3 separate regions of the Homo sapiens genome follow, and regions 1 and 2 are each linked to region 3. Evidence: promoter capture Hi-C in human tissues and cell types (Jung and others, 2019). All regions are on one chromosome and are shown on one strand. Each heading gives the region's core, a stretch centred on a gene start or on the middle of the fragment in contact. The rest is flanking DNA. Distances are from core to core; before and after follow the strand shown. Region 1 overlaps KIF6 (kinesin family member 6). Region 2 overlaps KIF6 (kinesin family member 6). Region 3 holds the start of DAAM2 (dishevelled associated activator of morphogenesis 2).

Region 1 (3,073 bases), core at 171-2,670, 150 kb before region 3:
CAGGTGGACTTGGGATAGAACTCTAGATCAGCTACTTACAGGATGTGGGCCCAGAGGAAAATATTTAACCTGAGGCTCAGTATTCCCAACTGTGAAATGGGAAGTTGCATTATATGTTATATCAAATACTGGTAAAACTGATAAAGCTACTGGCATTTTGAGGCACTCAATAAATGATACATATAATCTAGATAGATAACCCTTTTTTACAATGGTAATAATTACAACGGTATTTGTACTTTGGTAAATTCCTCTGGGCTTCTATCAAGTGTAAAATAGTAACAATTATACTATCCTGTTTAGTGTTTCAGTAGCTAAAAGAAAGATCTGCTTTGATAAGAAGACATTCCTCAGTTTCTTGAGGAATATAAGATATTAGTTGGTAAAAGGTGTTGTCTGCTCTTTCAACCTTCGTGCGTATATCAGAAGGAAATGTCCTTGAGCCTTTGCTGAAATAGCAGCCCTTTAATGAGAAGTACCTTCTTAATTTTCACTTGTACAGCAAAATCCCAACCTCTCCTTAAAGGTAAAGGCCAAAGTTATGACACAATAAGACTTTATCATTTAGACACAATAAAATACATGTCATAATAAATTTCCTGCTTTCAGTATATTTTTGCTGAATATATCAAATACAAAATGATATGAACGAAAAGTTTCATACCTTTTGTAACTGTTCAAAAATGTATGACAGTGTCCTTGGGATAATGCCTCTGTCACTGTAACGCTCTGCACCCCCTGTGATAGTGAATGTCTTCCCGCTGCCTGTTTGCCCATATGCAAAGATGGTACCATTGTAACCTGCCAGGACACTGCAATAAAGAAATGACACACTTTCAATATCAACATGGCTAACTGCATATGAATTAAATGGCTTGTATTCTAATAACAATCTTATTAAACACTATTAAAAAAACTTTATAGAAATATCTATTAAAAATTTATATATGTGAATATCTAGCTAGAATTTACATTTTTATCTAGGAACAGCAGCACATCAATCCTGTTCTCTAAGAAAGGATGTGCAACACAAATGGAGTTCAGTCATCTTAAATATATTCTTCATCTTTTAGTACACACTGGACTTGAATCAAAGAATATATTGAAAAAAAGTTCTGGGGAAACAATACCTGTAATTTGGCAAACTGTCAACCTGACACCTGGTACCTCACATGGTGTAAACACTCACAATAGTAGTTACTTCCTAGAACAGGAGGAACACACTCTGCTTGCCACCATATACCTTGCAATGTAATTCCCTACTTAATACTAAGCACCAACTGAAAATCCTCTAGGAATTCCCCTCTTCTCTTTTCTTGGAATGACTTTTTGGTAGAAGATGCTAGTCCATATATATTCTTCAGCCCTGCAGAGCGGCCCTTGATTTGATGGTGGTCTTAAGAACCCAAAGGCTGGATCTTCTCAGCCTTTGAAGAGCACCACCTGTAATATAAGCTTTTATAAATATGCATGAAATGATGTAGACTTTCAAAACTGTGTCTTTAATCTATGCTACATGGAACAGTAAACTTTTGTAGCTTTATGTTCGTTTTTTGATACAAGTGGCTCCTTGATCTCTGAGATGTTTTCATTAAACTAGCTACGATGACATCAGCTATTGGTCCCCATGTTGTGGGTGGATTTTTTGATAGATGGCTCCTCTGAGTTCACCCCTCACTGTTCATATTAGAATTCCTCCCTATTAGTTCTGTCAACATCCTATCTACAGTTCTATGTTTCATATGCTTTCATGCCTGTGTGTTGAGTGATCTGTCATTATAAGGGTCTCCTAAAACACACAGGTTTGACTGGAGATTATTCTGAAGTGGTCACTTATGACCACCTTATGCAACTATTAAACTTATGACCACCTTATGCAACTATTAAACTAACAATAATATCTTCAGCAACACGTCAATGCATCTGTTGCTGTGTAGGTAGAAAGTGTTGTTGGTGCTTACAAATTTAATGGACTTAGTACAGGGAATGCGCAAGAAAGTATTGTAACTGTGTGATTCAATGTTCTACTTTTGAGGAGTGTAATCACTTTTCTTCGTGTGTCTTTACATGGAGACAATATACTGTTGAAATTCTCAATTTCTAAGATGTTGGAACTATGACAAAATTAGATATATAATTACAGAATCTTTTTCCTCAACAGAATTTGTTACCAATGAAACATTGATGTCCCATTAGCAATATCATTTGGATATATGATATTTCTTGGCCATAAATGCTGTAGGTAAATGAAGTCTAAAATTTCAAATATCTAATCTTAAACATTTTATTGATTCTTGATAGAAAGAATAGATGTAAAATATTCTAGGCATTATCTGTCTTGAAAAACACCATGGAATACTCTGCAGCCATAAAAATTGATGAGTTCATGTCCTTTGTAGGGACATGGATGAAGCTGGAAACCATCATTCTCAGCAAACTATCGCAAGGGCAAAAAACTAAACACCACATGTCCTCACTCATAGGTGGGAATTGAACATGAGAACACATGGACACAGGAAGGGGAACATCACACACCGGGGACTGTTGTGAGGTGGGGGGACGGGGGAGGGATAGCATTAGGAGATATACCTAATGTTAAATAACGAGTTAATGGGTGCAGCACACCAACATGGCACATGTATACAAATGTAACTAACCTGCACGTTGTGCACATGTACCCTAAAACTTAAAGTATAATATATATAAAAAAAAGCCACTGCCAAGGAAACAAAAAAAAAAGGAAAAAACTACAGAGCACAAATTAATATTTTCATTTTGATATAGATATAGACTACGAAAAGTGAGTAGGTAGTACACTACGTTGGCATCTGCTAAGTGTTATGTCTACTTTTTTATGCTAAAATCTTCTTTCTCACTGCCAGTTGTCCTAGTATGTCTGTCTTTAATATGTGCTCCCCCTACCCCCATCTACTGTGGGATGGAAAACCAGATGACATAGCTTCATAGAACACTGTAAAATAAAAAGGGTAAGGCTTGACCTATATATACTCCCATGGCTATTTATTTATTACGTTGCTACAATTAAACGTTAAATAAGGAAATGTAATCAGGC
Region 2 (3,348 bases), core at 589-3,088, 130 kb before region 3:
CATGGTTGATCAGCACAACAAATCTGAATCAGTAAAATTTCACTTTGAATGATTTACTTAGCCTCAAAGAAATGGCTTAAATTTGGCCATGCTGAGAACTGGCCAACCTAGCCATATTAAATTTATCCATAAGTTTATATATGTAGTATAATATGTTTCATTAAAATCTCCAATCTGGCCTGGCATGGTGTCTCATGCCTGTAATCCCAGCACTTGGGGAGGCCGAGGCAGTAGGATTGCTTGAGCTCAGGAGTTTGAAACCAGCCTGGGCAACAGAGTGAGACCCTGTCTCTAAAATAATTTTTAAAAATTTCCAATAAAAAATGTGTTGAAGTTGTATTATTTATTCCCTCAAGCATCTATTTCTTCATGCATTCATAGCAAAAGACATTTATGGTGCCCCTTTTTCCACAGCAATGTTCTAGGTACAATATAATGGATGCATGTAAAATTCATGTGCTGTCACAGTTCATACGGAGTATACAAGCTAGTGTATACTTGGGTGGGAAGTCCTAAGCACAGAATCTTTCTCAACCGCTTGAGGTATCATCAAATCATCTCAGCATAGTGGGTGAGTAACTACCTATGGGGGTATAAGCTGTCTAGTTGTGTTGTCAATGTCCCTTCGGAGGTTTTGAAGTTATAGCTTGCTAAGTTCAGATACATAAAATGCTCACACAATCTTGTCAATGAAGCTTTCCTTCAACAGCAGAAATCCTCTACCTTTTTTTTCTGGGTCATCCAAAACAGTCTTTCAAAAGCTAAATTTTTTTTTGAGCTAAGGAGCCCCAATATTCAATTTATTCGATTCAGTGAGATGAATGTTGTCAGTCTAAGCACAGTCAGCACTGTGCCCCTCATAAAAAACTTTACAGCAACTTCAAAATACTAACATGAGTGTGAAATAACAAAATAGATTAATGTGATCCAGAAGCGTCCATTTTCTTTCTAAATAAATCAAAAGTTAAAATATAATTATTCTGGTCAACAAAGCCATTATGGATTATTCCATAATTATATCAAGTTTTCTAAGGCAAGTAATAGTTTCCTTTTCACTGCCTGTGAGTCCCCATGAAATCACCTTGCAGTGCTTCACACAAAAATCTGGTGCTTACATGTTTGTTTATTGCACTGCTGCTTTTTCCCTGAGAGCTGCAAAATCCAAATTGGTCTTACTTCCATAAGACCATAATTATTGCACTATGGAATCAATCACTCTGAAAAGCTGATACTGTTTCAAAATGAACCTACTCACAGTGACTATAACTCACAACCAGGCTGAAAAGACACATCAAATTCTGCTATTTTAAAAGCAATTTTTACTCTACAATTATGCATTGATAAAATATTTGATAATAATAATTTTTTAAATGGTTAGGCTCAATTCTTCACCAAGATTCACTTCTATTTTTCTGATTTTATTGCCACACTAATCCTTTGATTTGCATTTCTCATAATTATTTTTATTTAACTGATTATAGAAATAGTATATGTTCTTTGTCAAAAACACATCATGTCATACAGCACAAAGTTAAGTACTCCATAATGTTCCACAAAGATAACCCAGGTTAACATATGCTATGTACACTTTTAGATTTTTTTCTGTGTCTATTGCCTATGTGTAAAGAATTCATTCTTTTTTTCTCTCTCTCTCCCTTAACTCATTCTCTTCCTGGGGACCAACTTTCCTCTACCCCAAGAATGTAAGCATCCCATTCTACCTATGGTAGTAAAACTGAGAGGAAATAAAAATCAAACATCAGAAAAGGAGTTAAAAGGGCATGCAGTAGCGGGGAAAGAAGTAGGGCCATAGCAGAAAAGAGAGGTACAAGAAGGAACAGAGCCTTGGGAGCTAATAAGGAGTACCCTGGGAGAACAAAATAAAGGCCCTTTCCGTGAAAAGCCGTTGAAGAGTTACACAGAACAAAAGGGTCACTACCAGATGGATACCTTCTAACCTCCCTCAATCCTTCTCCACTTAGCAACCAGGAGCCATCTTTGAAAAATACAAATCAGGTCAGTCTCTGACCAATAATTCATCATACTGATATTCTGATTTTTCAACCTGGTATACTCAGCCATCCATGGATGGTAAAACTGCTTACTTTAATTGTACTGGAGACCTTGGCACCCCAGGAAAGTTTAAATAATTAAGAATAGAGATAAAGTAAATCAAACCCATACTCTTAATAACATTATAGAATATATTTAAGTGTACTTTTCATATCATTGGGCCATTCTAGTTGTTTTATTTAAAGAGTTTGAAATACTTAAAAATATTATGACTTTAATTTAAAACATATAATCAATTCCAGATTTGGGATATTAAGTGGTGTAAGTACATTTGATTCAATTTTGGAAATAGCATTAAAATGTTAAGAGAGGCTGATTTACTATGGGTATATGTTTGCTTACTATTTTTTAAGTTGCTATGTGCTTAAAATGATTTGTTAGGTTTGTAAGTCTGCCCCACAAGGCATTTGAGGTGTTTGAGACAGTCACATACATTACATGTGTAAATGAGGTTTAAAATGTTTAAGGGAATTTAATTAGCTAAATTAGAATTGTAATTAATTGTTTAGGAAAATTTCAACTGTTAAATTTGAATTAATCAAATGTTAATAGGGTAACAAATGAAAGAGACTATTCTTATATAATAACTAAATGTAAAAATAGTCTCATAAGATTTGTAGGTTGAAGTAGGTGTTTGAACACACAGCTTTTATAGAGACAATATCAATTCGAAACCCAATGTAAGAAGTCCTTTTAAAGATTTATCTGGAGGCTAAGGCAGAAGGATTGCTTGAGTACAGGAGTTTGAGAACAACCTGGGCAATATACTGAGCCCCTATCTCAAAAAAAATTATCTTGAATAATAAAATACTCAAACTGAAAACAAGATCCACAAAAGCAAGGTGTTTCTCTGCCTGGCGTACCCCAATGTCTTCAGAGCCAAAAATTGTCTGCACACACACATAGTCAAAAATACGCGTCCACATGGAGTTGTTTATTCAACTTCAGCTTAGTATCTTTTTTTCTTTTCTTCTTTTCTCTCTCTCTTTTTTTTTTTTATAGGGTCTTGCCCAGGCTGGAGTGCAGTGGCACCATCATGGCTCACTGCAGCCTCAACCTCACAGACTCAATTGATCCTCCCACTTCAGCCTCCTAGTAGCTGGGACTACAGGTGCACACCGCCATGCCTGGCTAGTTTTTGTATTTTTGGTAGAGATGGGGTTTTGCCATGTTGCCCAAGCTAGTCTCAAACTCTTGGACTCAAGTGATCCACTGGCCTCGTCCTCCCAAAGTGTGCCTGGTGGAACTTGCTATCTTTCTGAAGATCAAATTAGA
Region 3 (3,142 bases), core at 30-2,529:
AATGGAAAGTTCACTATAGTTGTGTTTTAATGATGATTTGCAATTATCCGTGCCCCCTCCCATTCATGGTGAGATGAATACCTAAACACTTATGTTGTCTAACCATATAAGTATTTTGCATCTCACGTGTATCATTTTAAGTTCATTTCATTCTCCAATCCTTGGGAACCATGAAGGATAACACATTACATTCTCTTTTTTTTTTTTTTTTCCTCTGGAAGATCATGCATTACATTCTCTTTTTTTCTCTGGAAGGGTGGCCCTTAAACCAAGCCATTTCCCTAAGCCCCTTTGGTGAGGTGGAGAAACAGACAACCACTAACACAGAACAACCACTGAACACCCAGAAAACTGTATACAGGTCATCACCCAGTGGGGGCACCATTTGCTTGCAGAGGGAGCTGGGGAAAATAGGAAACAGAGAAGATCAAATACTCCCCGTGAGGGTGTTGCCAATCCCAGAGAGGACAATTGCTCTTGACCAAAGCAATCTCTAGTTCAGTCAAGGAGACAGACCACAATCACATTTAAAAAAAAAAGAAAAAAAAAAACTAAAAGGAAATTTTAAAAGTATGAATAAGAGCTATTGTAAACTGCTCAAACTATGCATACAAGCAATGAAGTAAGATGAATTGACTGGCACTGAATTGGAAAAGCTATACAGAGGCAGGGAGTGTGGAACATAATTTAATAAAAATAAACTTAAAAAAATATATATACACTCCCAAAAAAGAAATGGAAAAGTTGTTAGGGCGTGGACCAGGACTCCTAATTAGCTGTTCTGTTGTGCCTGATTTCGCTCCTGTCTTGCCCAGCACCCCTTGGGACACACTGTCCAGTGCAGGGACACTTTGGGGAGGGACAGGGGATTCCTTGGCACCGGGACCTTCACCTCCGAGCCGGCCTCAGACCAGGCCATTTGCCCGTAGCCCAGAGGAGGAGCCGGGGAGAAACCCGCTGCCCAGGTGGCCACTTTTGCCTCTTTGACCCTTCCATGTTTCCAAAACAGAAGGGGCCCTGAGAACGCTCCCTGCCAAAGTGGGGAACAGCTACCCTCATTGTACGCCTCGCCCTGCCGGTGGCGCTCTCCCCCCGCCTGCGTTCGGTCTGAAAGTGTGAAAATTACAAATCCCAAGAAACTGCAATCAGAAGTCTACCTAGGGAAAATTCAGAGTAACCTTGCCATAAATATCCCGCTCCAAGACGCCTGACGTCAGAGCGGGGCGGGCGGACGGGCGCGAGGCCGGGCCTGGAGGGGCGGCAGCCGCGGCTTCCCGGGGATAGCGCGGAGCACGCAGCAGCGAGCGGAGCGCGGGCGGCGGCGCCGTACCTCGGGCTGCGGGAGCGCGGGCGCCCTGGGGTCCTCGGAGTAAGTGCGGCCGGCCCTGGCGCTCCCCGTCTTGGGGCCCGGGCCGCGGGGAGCCCTCTCCGCTGGGCTCCCACACTTCTCTCCCTCTGCTTTCTTTAGCATGCCCCGCGGGGCTTGGGGAGGCAGCAGCTCCGCAGGCTGGCGGTTTTGTTTCTCCAAAGTGTTTGCAGGAGCCGCCGACCCCGGAGTGGGCTCCCAGGGCCTGTGTGTGTGTGAGTTGTGTGTGTGTATGAGTGTGATTGCGTGTGTCTGTACTGGCACATCTGGACATAGGAAATGTCTTTGGAAAACTTTTTAAAAATGTTTTTTGCGGCTTTGAAACCTGACCCCTGGTTGTCACAAGTGGACAAACACAGAAGATACCCCGCAAAACTGACAACTTTTTGGTGGTGGCTTTTCCGGGTTCGGCTTGAACCTTCACTTGGCTGGGCTGAAGTCTTCACAAGCCCCCAGCTCCCACTTGCAGGCCTGGCCTCTGGCCAGTGGGCAGGGCAGCCGTAAGGTTCTTGTTCTCAGTGGCAGTGGGACCCTGGGCGGGGGAAGGAGCATCTCAGGAAAGGGGTCCCCGGACTCTGGGGCTCTCAGCACCTGCGGTCGCAAACCAACCTCATGCCCTGACTTTACCAGGCGTCGGGACTCTGACTTAACCGGGGAATGAGGGACTTGGTCTGGCGGCAGGTAATTTTGTGAAGAGGATGAGAAGGAAGAGGGGGAGGTGGTGGTGATGGCCAGGACGCTGTGGCCCTGTGTCCAGCCGTAGCTTGGGAGTGGGATGGTTGGTTCTGCCACATGGCCACGGTGAGGTACGTGCCAGGTTCTCCAGGAGTGCCGCGTGTGGTGCCCCAAACAAGATGCAAGCTCCTAACATAAAGAGACGTGTCTGAGCTGTGGGGTGGAGGAAGGGGGGCGGTGGGGGAGAGGGAGATTTTTATCAAAATTGAACACAGATTGCTGAGATCTGGGCTTGATTTAACTCTTCTCTCTCTGCCTCGGCCACTTCTCCACAGTTTTGGAGTGGATTTGGAACGTTTCTCGGAGGGTTAGAGGAAAATCACACCTCTCCGGAAAAGAGTCCCCATAGGTTTTCCCTTGATGCCCACGTGGGAATGAAAGCAGCTTCCCATCTTTAAAAAGTTCAAAGTCTTGTGTTTTCCCCCTTCTGAGTTTGGTGTTAGTTTCCTGAGTTTCTTTGCAAAGCCAGCTGAAGCGGGGGATGGATTTTCCCTAGGGCCTAGGGCGGAAAGTGTGCTCCACGGAGAGTAGGGGAAAAAAGCAGCAGTGAGGCTGTATCGATCCATCATCCCTGAGTAGCACAGTGCCAGGCACTGCCTGTCAATAGCTGGGTTCCACAAACGAGTGACCACAGACAGACTGAATTTTCAGCTTTGAGCTAGCCAGGTCTCTGGTTTTGTATTTTGCAGTAGAGCCAACCTACAATGTCTGGGTGGGAGGAAGATTACTGGACTCTCCCTCTGTCCTAGAAAAATGAGAAAATGAAGGGACAGGGAGGAAATCTGGATGTAAAAACAGACCCACAGGAAGTTAAGATTCAGGAAGGATTTTAGAAATTATATAAATTGAACCCCAGGGAAGCTCCATAAAAGATGGAGCAGGCAGCAATGTCAGAAACAGACTCATTTAACTTCAGGAGTACGTTGTCAACTGAAGTGTAATGAAGGAGGAGGAAATCATCCCATAGGCAATGTAAACAAGGGTGCATGTAAACAGGAGTGACTGGTCCCCATGAGATGCACATGCCTATGTGTTTTTACA

What was found. The method cuts DNA at HindIII sites, captures the fragments that hold promoters and counts their contacts. A contact is called where the count stands out against the background at its distance.
Region 1: a fragment that was not itself captured here is called in contact with the fragment with the promoter of DAAM2 in region 3 in 1 of the 25 tissues and cell types used here (hippocampus).
Region 2: a contact is called between a fragment that was not itself captured here and the fragment with the promoter of DAAM2 in region 3, in 1 of the 25 tissues and cell types used here (hippocampus).

What each region holds. Positions count from the first base shown.
Region 1 is chr6:39,638,946-39,642,018 of GRCh38, forward strand. It overlaps KIF6 (kinesin family member 6), which reads right to left. Exons shown (of 23, transcript NM_145027.6): 4 at 665-812. Among named protein-coding and RNA genes, the nearest start is that of KIF6, 85 kb to the right of the region's middle. The HindIII fragment of the contact is 5,196 bases long and covers 1-3,073 here.
Region 2 is chr6:39,659,853-39,663,200 of GRCh38, forward strand. All of the region lies in intron 3 of KIF6 (kinesin family member 6), which reads right to left. Among named protein-coding and RNA genes, the nearest start is that of KIF6, 64 kb to the right of the region's middle. The HindIII fragment of the contact is 4,187 bases long and covers 1-3,348 here.
Region 3 is chr6:39,791,097-39,794,238 of GRCh38, forward strand. DAAM2 (dishevelled associated activator of morphogenesis 2) reads left to right here and starts at 1,280. Exons shown (of 25, transcript NM_001201427.2): 1 at 1,280-1,369. The HindIII fragment of the contact is 10,904 bases long and covers 1-3,142 here.